4 separate regions of the Homo sapiens genome follow, and regions 2, 3 and 4 are each linked to region 1. The links are contacts of gene promoters, found by promoter capture Hi-C in human tissues and cell types (Jung and others, 2019). All regions are on one chromosome and are shown on one strand. Each heading gives the region's core, a stretch centred on a gene start or on the middle of the fragment in contact. The rest is flanking DNA. Distances are from core to core; before and after follow the strand shown. Region 1 holds the start of CTAGE1 (cutaneous T cell lymphoma-associated antigen 1). Region 2 has its middle 53 kb from the start of CTAGE1. Region 3 has its middle 59 kb from the start of CTAGE1. Region 4 overlaps LOC124904260 (a long non-coding RNA gene).

Region 1 (2,631 bases), core at 95-2,594:
CAAGCAGGAGGTTGCCCTGGCTGTGCACATGCTGCAAAGCATGCATGTGAACGTGATTCTGATCACGGGGGACAACTGGAAGACAGTCAGAGCCTTTGCCACCCAGGTTGGCATCAACAAAGTCTTTGCAGAGGTGTTGCCTTCACACAAGGTGACCAAGGTTCAGGAGCTCCTGAATGAAGGGAAGAAAGTCGCCATGGTGGGGGACGGGGTCAATGATTCCCTGGCCTTGGCCCAGGCAGACTTGGGCATTGCCACTGGCACTGGCACGGATGTGGTCATCGAGGCAGCCAACGTCATCCTCATCAAAAATGATTTGCTGGATGTGGTGGCTAGCATTCATATTTCCAAGATGACTGTCCAGAGGATATGCATCAAACTGGTCCTGGCGCTGATTTATAACCTAGTGGGCATACCCATTGCTGCAGGAGCAAGCTTTCCAGATGAGTTGAAGATATGTGCATGGGCGGGAGATGATGACTTATTGCAGGGCAAGGCGTCATCCGTGTTGAAGGAGTGCCAGTGTTTCAGAAATGGACACAGAGCAGGTAAGTTTGATGGACAGGTAAGAGAATCACTCTCTATGTGCCAGCACTGTTCTAAGAGTCCTGGATCTTCTGGGGATGAGATTAGCGTTTTTCAGTTGTACATGGGACAGCTGAGGCTCATGCTAGGGAGTGGTGAGCCCTTTCCTGGAAGAAGTTAATCTAAAAAGCATAATCTGTCTCATTTGGGAGGAGCTAAATAAATATCTCTTCAATGAAGCAAAGGTCAATCAGAAAATTTGTATTTTAGCTATAAAATTACCTATCAGAATTTACCATAGGGCATAATCTTAGTCAAGCACCCAAATTCATTATTTCAGCCACAGATACTGAAACACCAAAGGGATAAGGGGGCAGGTATTTCAGTTAGCTACTGCTGCATAACAAATGACCCCAAAGCTTAGTGACTTAAAACAATGATTTGTTATTCCTTATCATTCTGTCAGCTGGGAGGTTCTTCTGCCCGCCCCACCTGGGGTCATGCACAAGGCTACATTTAGCTAGGGTGTCAGCTTGGGATGGGCATAGCTGGGATGCTGGGTCACCTGAGTCTTTCTCACCATGTGGTACTGTTTTAAAATATAGGTTTTAGCGCTTCCTCAGGATGTAAAGTGTAACAAAGGTACCGGGGTGGGCAGTGTGGGTCTGTGAGGCCTACGGGTGCCCGCGTCCCCTAACTCCCCCCGCAGCCGGCTCCGCAGTGGTACGCTCCGGTTGCCCGTTAGGGATTCAGGTTCCAAACGGAATGCTGCGTCTTCTCCAGCGTTTGTTGTGGCCGAGGTTACTGCAGCAACCGCCAGAGCAGCCTTGGCGCTACGGAGGAGCCTAGGGCTAACCCTCAGCCATACCTGGGGCTGGTCCTGGAGTTGCTACGCAGGGTTGTGGCAGCACTGACTGAAGGTATGAGACCCGATTCTCATCCTTATGGTTTTCCATGGGAATTGGTGATACGTGCAGCTGTTGCTGGATTTTTTGCTGTTCTCTTCTTGTGGAGAAGTTTTAGATCAGTTACGAGTCGGCTTTATGTGAGAAGAGAGAAAAAGTTTGCTGTGGCACTTTCTGGACTAATTGAAGAAAAATGTAAACTACTTGAAAAATTTAGCCTTGTTCAAAAAGAGTATGAAGGCTATGAAGTAGAGTCATCTTTAAAGAATGCCAGCTTTGAGAAGGAGGCAACAGAAGCACAAAGTTTGGAGGCAACCTGCGAAAAGCTGAACAGGTTCAATTCTGAACTTGTGCATGAAATACTCTGTCTAGAAAAAGAGTTAAAAGAAGAGAAATCTAAACATTCTGAACAAAATGAATTGATGGCGGATATTTCCAAAAGGATACAGTCGCTAGAAGATGAGTCAAAATCCCTCAAATCACAAGTAGCTGAAGCCAAAATGACCTTCAAGAGATTTCAAGCGAATGAAGAACGGTTGGAGATAGAAATACAAGATGCTTGGAAAGAAAATTCTGAACTTCAGGAAAGCCAGAAACAGCTTTTGCAAGAAGCTGAAGTATGGAAAGAACAAGTGAGTGAACTTATTAAACAGAAAAGAACATTTGAAGACTCCAAAGTACATGCAGAACAAGTTCTAAATGATAAAGAAAATCACATCAAGACTCTGACTGAACGCTTGCTAAAGATGAAAGATGGGGTTGCTATGCTTGAAGAAGATGTAACGGATGATGATAACTTGGAATTAGAAATGAACAGTGAATCGGAAGATGGTGCTTACTTAGATAATCCTCCAAAAGGAGCTTTGAAGAAACTGATTCATGCTGCTAAGTTAAATGCTTCCTTAAAAACCTTAGAAGGAGAAAGAAACCAAATTTATATTCAATTATCTGAAGTTGATAAAACAAAGGAAGAGCTTACAGAGCATATTAAAAATCTTCAGACTGAACAAGCATCTTTGCAGTCAGAAAACACACATTTTGAAAGTGAGAATCAGAAGCTTCAGCAGAAACTTAAAGTAATGACTGAATTATATCAAGAAAATGAAATGAAACTCTACAGGAAATTAATAGTAGAGGAAAAATGCCGGTTAGAGAAAGAAGAGAAACTTTCTAAAGTAGACGAAATGATCAGCCATGCCAC
Region 2 (2,631 bases), core at 68-2,567, 53 kb after region 1:
TTGAAAAGCCCGCTGAGAGTCAGCGAAGTGTACATCTCATATGTTGGTGATGCTAAAGAGAAGCATCATGACATTACTCCAGACAAGTGTTTAATAGCTATGTTCACTGTGTTCTGCTCAGGAAGTGATGCGTTAAGCATTTATTTATTTAAACATTTGATGGTTGTTGCTTATTATGTTAATATTTTACTGTATTGATTTGCATTTTAGGAAATAGTTAGTGGTTTGGGGTTATCATGTAATGAAGTATAATTTTTCCTATTTGAAATAATAAAAAATAGGCTTGGTAATATTTTCATTTAGAATGTCTGATTTTGGGGGAGGAATTACTGGAGTTAAATGGGCAATACATGTATATTTTTAAGTAACTTTTTCATGGATTCCAATTTATTATTGGCAATTGCTTCATTCTACTTTTACTCCTAAATAACTTAGCTGGGTACTCATTGTAGGTGAATTATTTTTTGCCTTCCACAATTTAATGATATCCCACCATCTTTTGGTATTGTTTTTGAGAATTCTATTCTCAATCTAATCATCATTCCTTTGTCGATAATCTGTCTTTCTTCTCTGGATTCTTTTAATATTTTAGTTCTCAATATTTGCAAACTATCCATCTGACAAAGGATTAATAATCTATATTCATAAGGAACTCAAACAACTCAATAGCAAAAAACAAAACAAAACAAATAATCCAGTTTTAAAATGAGCAAAAGACCCGAATAGAAATTTCTCAAAAGAAGACATACAAATGGCCAACAGGTACATGAAAAAATGCTCAACATCACTAATCATCAAGGAAATGCAAATCAAAACCACAATGAGATATCATCTCACCCCAGTTAGAATGACTATAATCAAAAAGACAAAAAATAACAAATGCTGGCAAGGATGCAGAGACAGAGGAACACTTCTACACCATTAGTAGAAATGTGAAGTAGTACAGCCATTATGAAAGGTTCCTCAAAAAACTAAAAATAGAACTACCATATGATCCAGCAATCTCACTATTAGGTATATATCCAAAAGAAAGGAAGTCAGTACATCTAAGAGATATCTGAACTATCACATTTATTGCAGCACTATTAATAATAGTCAAGGTGATGAATGGATAAAGAAAATGTGATATATATACATACATTTCTTTATATATGTATAGGAATTTATATATATATATAGGAATATTATTCAGTCATTAAAAATGAAATCCTGGCATTTGCAGCAACATGTATGAAACTGGAGGTTATTATATTCAGTGAGATAAGCCAGGCACAGAAAGGCCAATATTGCATGTTCTCATCCCTATGTGGGAACTGAAAAAGTGGATCTCTTGGAGATAGAGAGTAGAATGATGGGCCGGGTGTAGTGGCTCACACCGGTAATCCCAACACTTTGAGAAGCCAAGGTGGGCAGATGGCTTGAACCTAGGAGTTTGAGACCAGCCTGAGCAACATGGCAAAAAAAAAAAAACTCTACAAAAAAATAAAAAAATTAACCAGGCATAGTGGCGCACATCTGTAATCCCAGCTACTTAGGAAGCTGAGGTGGGAGGATGGTTTGAACCCAGGGTGCCAAGGCTACAGTGAGCTATGATCACACCACTGCACTCCAACCTGGGTGACCGAGTAAGTCTTTGTCAAAAAAAAAAAAAAAAAAAGGAGAGAGTAGAATGGTGGTTACCAGAGGAAAGCAGGTAGAGAGGATGATGAGAAATTGGTTAATGCATGCAAAAATACAGCTCAATAGAAGCAATAAGTTCTAGTATTCAATGGTGCAGTTGAGAAGTTATAGTGAATAATACCTTATTGCATATTTATAAATTGATAGAAGAATTGTAATGTTTCCAACATAAGAAGAAGAGAAACATTTGAGGTGATTGATATCCCAATCACCCTCATTTTATCACTGCATACTATATACATGTATCAAACTATCACATGTGTCCCCCAAATAAGTACAACTATGATATATTAATAAAAATACATATAAATAAAATATAGTTCTGCATGTTCTGCAGTTTTCATTCTGATGTGGCAAGGTGTGGATTTGGATTTATATTTACAGGAAGCCCTTGAATAATGTGGGGGTTGGGGCACTGGCTCCCCAACCCCCTGCAGTTGAAAATATGCCTATGACTTTTGACTCCTCAGAAACTTAACTACTAATAGCCTACTGTTGACCAGAAGCCTTACCAATAACATACACAGCTGAACACATGTTTTGTATATGTGTTACATACTGTATTCTTACAATAAAGTAAGCTACAGAAAAAAGTTATTAAAAATCATAAGGAAGAGAAAATATATTTACTATTCATTAAGTGGAAGTGGATCTCATAAAGGTCTTCATTTTTATCATCTTCATGTTGAGTAGCAGAAGAGGAGGAAGAGGAGGGGTTGGTCTTGCTGTGTCAGGGGTGGCAGAGGCGGAAGAGGAGGAGGAGGTGGAAGGGGAGGCAGGCACACTTAGCATAAGTTTTATTGAGAAAAATCTGCATGTAAGTGGACCCACACAGTTCAAACCCATGTTGTCCAAGGGTCAGCTGTATATTCTGCTTGAAACTCATTCATTCACTTGATATATACTTATTGTGCCCCTACTACTTGCTAGATCCAGGCACTAGGGATCAGC
Region 3 (2,631 bases), core at 37-2,536, 60 kb before region 1:
TCCATCTCTCCCTTTAGATCTAATAATATTTGCTTTGTATACCTCAGTGCTCTGATGCTGCATGCATGTATGTTTAGAATTGTTACATCCTCTTGCTGAATTGATCCCTTTATCATATAATAACCTTCTTTTACTCTTTTTACTGTTTTTGCCTTAAAGTCTGTTTTAACTGATATAAAGGTAGCTACTCCTGCTCTCTTTTGGTTTCCATTTGCACGGAATATACTTTTCCATCTCTTTACTTTCAGTCTATATATGTCTTTACAGGTGAGACATGTTTCTTTGTAGGCAGCATATAGTTAGGTCATTTAAAAAATTTCACTTAGCCATTCTATATCTTTTAAATGGAAAATTTAATTCACTTACATTCAAAGTTATTATTGATATGTCAGGGTTTATTTTTATCATTTTATTAATTGATTTCTGGTTGTTTTGTATATCCTTTCTTTCTCTCTTACGTTTTATCATTGTCACTTGGTAGTTTTCTGTGGTTATAACATTTGCATCCTTTCTATTCCTTACTTGTGTGTTTGCTCTACCAGTGGGTTTTATATTAACGCTTTTGTGTGTTTTTATGGTAGTAGATATCGTCCTTTCACTCCCAGGAATAGGACTCCCTTAGGCATTTCTTGTGGGATTAATCTAGTGGCGGTGAATTCCCTCAGCTTTTGTTTACCTGGGAAAGACTTCATTTCCCCTTCACTTATGAAGTATAACTTTGTATTTGGATGTCTAAATGTCTTAGTAGACTTGGGAAGTTTTCAGCTGTTGTTTCATTAAATAAGCTTTATATTCTTTTGGTTTTTTTCTTTCTTTCTGGCAATCAAATATTTGCATTTTTGCTGTCCAAATACAGGAAGCTCAGAGATCCCTAAACAGATGCAATTTTAAAAGATCTTCTCCATGGCATATTGTAGTCAAAATGTGAAAATTCAAAGACAAACAGAAAATGCTAAAAACAGCAAGAGAAAAGCATCTAGTCACTTACAAGTGAACCCCCATCAGACTAACAGTGGATTTCTCAGAAGAAACCTTAAATGCCAGGAGAGCATGGGATGATATATTCAAAGTGCTGAAAACAAACCTGCCAGATAAGGATACTATACACAGTAAAGTTATCTCTTCAGGCCTCCCAGTGATACATGCAGGTGTTGGTTGTAGTAGGAAGGGGTGGGGTGATCCCCAGGCCCCTAGTGGAATGTTCAGGTGGGGGTGGCAGTGACTGTGTGGCATCCCCACTGCTGGAGAGGGCAGGGTTGTTTTCAGTGGCAGCAGCCACAGGCAGGCAGCTGGGATGCATGAACTTCAGCCCCAGGTGGTGGCTTTGGGTGGAACAGCCTGTCTGTAGAGCACTTGCCTATGTGTAGCAGTCTCGCTACTGTGAGTGGTCATGCAATGACCCCAATGGAGGCAGCCAGCAATGATGGCAGCTACCTATGGGATGTCAATGGGGCTCCAGGGATGTGAAGATGAAGGGGCTGTTGAGCCCCAAGGCAGGATGCAGTTTGGCAGTGGCTGAGCTCTCAAAATGGCACCATGCTGAAGCTGCTTAGGACTTGAGGTGTGCAGGGGGCCCAATGTGAGCTCCATCTCTGGCGCAATGCCACTGTGCAGTTTCCAGGCAGCTCTCTAGGTTTGTCTCAGGGCATGGGAGAGTCGAGGGGCTCTTCCATGGCTCGGAATGCAGGAGCTCAGAGTGGGAATGTGGAGTGTTGGGTGTTGGGGATCACTTACTTACCTTTTACCTGCATTGAGAAGCCTCTTCTGGTTCCCAGCTGATCCCAGCTGAGCAAGCTGCCTGGCTTCCTTCTCCTTCCTTTTTTTTTTTTTTTTTTTTTAGCCCCTCTTTCCTTGCCTTAGATGTTTCCTGACACTTTTCTGTTGAATTCCAGTTTTATCTCTTAGATGATCTATTCAAAGTGTGATTATCTACTTGCAATTTTGGTTCTTCTTTGTGGAAGTGATGAGTACCAGAACCTTTAGTCAGCCGTCTTAACCCCCCTCCCAACAATCGGGTTTTTATCTGCTCTGAATATGACATTCAAATGCTAGCTCTCCTCTTACTAACTCAAATCTCTTTGTCACTACAAAGCAACCAGTTTCCAGTTTTATCCAAGGTTTCTTCTGGTGGCAAAGACTGCTTTGTGTTCACCAGAACCCATTTCCCCTTCTTCCTGGGCCCACAGCTACACTGCCTCCCTTTCAGTTCGGTGTGGCCATGAGACTGAGTTCTGGCCGATAACATAGGAGTGGAAGTGAGGAACATCCTTTCCAGGCCTGGCCCATAAAAAGCTCCCATTGAAAACTCACCATTCGCTCTCTTCCTATGTCTTCCTGCAGGTTGCTGACATCTAGGATGACTTGGGAAGTTACACGTTGAGTACAGAAGAGCCTTTCTCAGCCCAGGTTCCTGAATGTTATGTGTGAAGCAGAGCACTCCTGCTCTCATAACCAATTAGTGACTGGACAAGAAATAAACTTCTCTTGTCTTAAGCCTTAGAAATTTTGGATTTGTTAACACTTCGAATTGCCTTAACTTTTATGACATGCCACACATTTTCCATGCTCTGAACAGTGAAAGACTCATAGAATGTAGTGTTTAACATGATCTCTTTGTGAAGTGATCATCAA
Region 4 (2,631 bases), core at 84-2,583, 42 kb before region 1:
TTCTCTTTGTTTATGTATTCTGCAATTTCTTTGTGATGTGCCTTGATGCAAATTTCTTTTCACTTATCTTTAATAGTTATTATTGTTCTTTCAATAACCTACCACCTCACTTTTTTCTCATCTTCTGAAATAACAATTACACTTTTGAAAGAGAAGAAAGACCATCTTGGAAAAAAGAGACCTTCTCTCTCTGTCCTCTACGTCTCTTTACCACTCTCCTATATTTTTCATTTCTTTGCCTCTTTGCACTATAATTCTGTATAATTTATTCACATTATCTTCAGTTCTCTAATTCTGTCTTCCACAGTGTCTAATCTGCCACCATACCCATTCACTGACTTTTCAATTTCTGTTACTCTATTTTTAATTTTAGAAGTGCTAGTTGATCTTTTTCTAACCCACAATGTCAATTTTTATTGTTGACTATTTCTTGCAGATATTTTAAAGCTTACCTTACATTTATTTAAATAAAATTAACATAGCTCTTTGTACTCTGTGTCTGGTCATTCAAACAGCTGCAGTTGTCTAACTCGCCTCTGCTGTCTATTTTGCTGACATTAACTATTGGTGCTTTGTTTTCTGAGTTTAGTAATCTTCAACTGTACTGCTTACTGCCCTTGAGAAACCATTTATACAAAATCCTCGAGGCCTAGGATGAAAGTATCTGCCTCCAGAGATGATTAGAGCTTGCTTCTGCCAGGTGCTTGGGGGTACTGTAGTTGTGTATCACTTTAAATTCATAGCTCAAAGTTTCTTGGCTCATCCCAAAGACATGTATTTGAGCAGCATATGGGCAAATACTGCCAGCCAATGATTCAGTGATGACGTCCTATCAGGGACGGGTTTTCTTTTTCTTTTCTCTGCTTTGCTTAGTGTCAAGGTAACTCTCCCATGGTCCCCTGGGGTAGTGGGAAGGGGAGCAGGTTCACCTTTGGTTTGTCCTTACCCTGAAGGTGAACCCCTTCAGACTCACAGCTTAATGTGAGGCAAGAGTCTCCTATGAGACCCTCCTTCCTACCTTGGGTGAGTCTTGGCCTTTGACTTCCGTATTCTTCATTCTGAGAGTCCATGAAAACCACAGCCAACTCAACTTAACCTGATCAACCACGGGCAAAATCCAATCAGGGCAAAACCTAATCACTTGGGAAGTCCTGATTATCTTGTCAGCTTTTCAGTGCTTTTAAAATCAAGTTTGTTTAATATGTTATCCAAATATTCATTGTTTTAACTGCAAGAATTAATCTAAATAACTAAGTCCATTATTACCAGACATGGAATGTCTGTTGATTTTTCTTATAAGTTTTAGTAACAGCTTATCTAGCTTTTTAAAATCCTATATTTTTATTGGCTTCAAATTCCATTTATAGATATCATTGGGAGAGTTAAATTTTTTGCTTTAAGTCTTCCTACTTAAGAATATGTCATGCCTTTCCATTTCTTTCATTTTTTTCTCCTCAATAACGTTTTAAAGTTACATTTTATATGACTTACACTTTGTGTTAAATTTTTACTCTTACACTTTTCAAAATTATTTTTATCTCTTTTTTTTTGCCCACATCTCACATTCCTTTTTACCAAAATGTTAGCTTTAAAAAATATATACCTAGGTGTTTTCTTTCTTTCAGTTAAATTAATATAAATATTAAACCTTTAAGTTTTTTCCAGAATTCTGCTTTAGCTCTGTCCCATAGGTTCTGATATGTACTAGCTTAATTATTTTCATTTATAAAAATATAACCCTTAATTATTTTTATTTTTAAAAATATATCCCTAATGGAAGAGTTGCACATGAAAGAATATTTTAGCATTTCCAGGTGGTAGAATTTTTCTCCTTCCTTATTTTATTATTAGTTTTTAAATGAATTGCTTTGTGATCAGAGAAGCTTTTCTGGACTCAGTCTAATTTCTGAAGTTTAGTAACATGTTCTTTGTGGACTTGGATATGGTCAGTTTCCAGCAGAATCTGAGTCTCCGTTCTGCTGCTTCCACTGTGGTCTTGGTTTCTAGGTTGTCATTTTTGCTAAGTTCTGCCAACTTATGTTTCACTTCCCATTGTCTTGCTAAATATTTCCTAAACTACTGTATATGTTTTTTTGAGCTCCTGTTTTTTAAAGGCGATTGTTTCACTAAGTTTTTTCTTTTCTTTTTAAATTCATGAAAGTATGTTGGGTCATAAATGTCATCTGTTTTGTGGCAATATTTTTCTAGTGAAGCTTTTTTTTTTTTTTTTTTTTTTTGAGACAGAGTCTTGCTCTGTCAGCCAGGCTGCAGTGCAGTGCTCAATCTCGGCTCACCATAAGATCCGTCTCCTGGGTTCACACCATTCTCCCGAGAAGCTGGGACTACAGGCGCCTGCCACCATGCCTGGCTAATTTTTTGTATTTTTAGTAGAGATGGGGTTTCACGGTGTTAGCCGGGATGGTCTCGATCTCCTGACTTCGTGATCCGCCCGCCTTGGCCTCCCAAAGTGCTGGGATTACAGGCGTGAGCTACCGCCCCCGGCTGTAAAGCTTTTTTAAACCTAATTTATTTGCTTTTCTTGTTTCATTCATTCTCTTTTCATCTATAGATACTGTGTGTGTTCCTTTTTGAATACTACCCATCTCTAAGTCAGGTCCGGGCTTTCTGAAT

The links. The method cuts DNA at HindIII sites, captures the fragments that hold promoters and counts their contacts. A contact is called where the count stands out against the background at its distance.
Region 2: a contact is called between a fragment that was not itself captured here and the fragment with the promoter of CTAGE1 in region 1, in 1 of the 25 tissues and cell types used here (adrenal gland).
Region 3: a fragment that was not itself captured here is called in contact with the fragment with the promoter of CTAGE1 in region 1 in 3 of the 25 tissues and cell types used here (dorsolateral prefrontal cortex, mesenchymal stem cells and mesendoderm cells).
Region 4: a contact is called between a fragment that was not itself captured here and the fragment with the promoter of CTAGE1 in region 1, in 2 of the 25 tissues and cell types used here (dorsolateral prefrontal cortex and mesenchymal stem cells).

The regions. Positions count from the first base shown.
Region 1 is chr18:22,416,628-22,419,258 of GRCh38, reverse strand. CTAGE1 (cutaneous T cell lymphoma-associated antigen 1) reads left to right here and starts at 1,344. Exons shown (of 1, transcript NM_172241.3): 1 at 1,344-2,631. The coding sequence starts at 1,448. It also overlaps the pseudogene ATP7BP1. The HindIII fragment of the contact is 3,989 bases long and covers 691-2,631 here.
Region 2 is chr18:22,364,070-22,366,700 of GRCh38, reverse strand. No RefSeq gene overlaps it. Among named protein-coding and RNA genes, the nearest start is that of CTAGE1, 53 kb to the left of the region's middle. The HindIII fragment of the contact is 5,109 bases long and covers 1-2,631 here.
Region 3 is chr18:22,476,076-22,478,706 of GRCh38, reverse strand. No RefSeq gene overlaps it. Among named protein-coding and RNA genes, the nearest start is that of CTAGE1, 59 kb to the right of the region's middle. The HindIII fragment of the contact is 7,194 bases long and covers 1-2,631 here.
Region 4 is chr18:22,459,077-22,461,707 of GRCh38, reverse strand. All of the region lies in intron 2 of LOC124904260 (a long non-coding RNA gene), which reads left to right. Among named protein-coding and RNA genes, the nearest start is that of CTAGE1, 42 kb to the right of the region's middle. The HindIII fragment of the contact is 3,214 bases long and covers 1-2,631 here.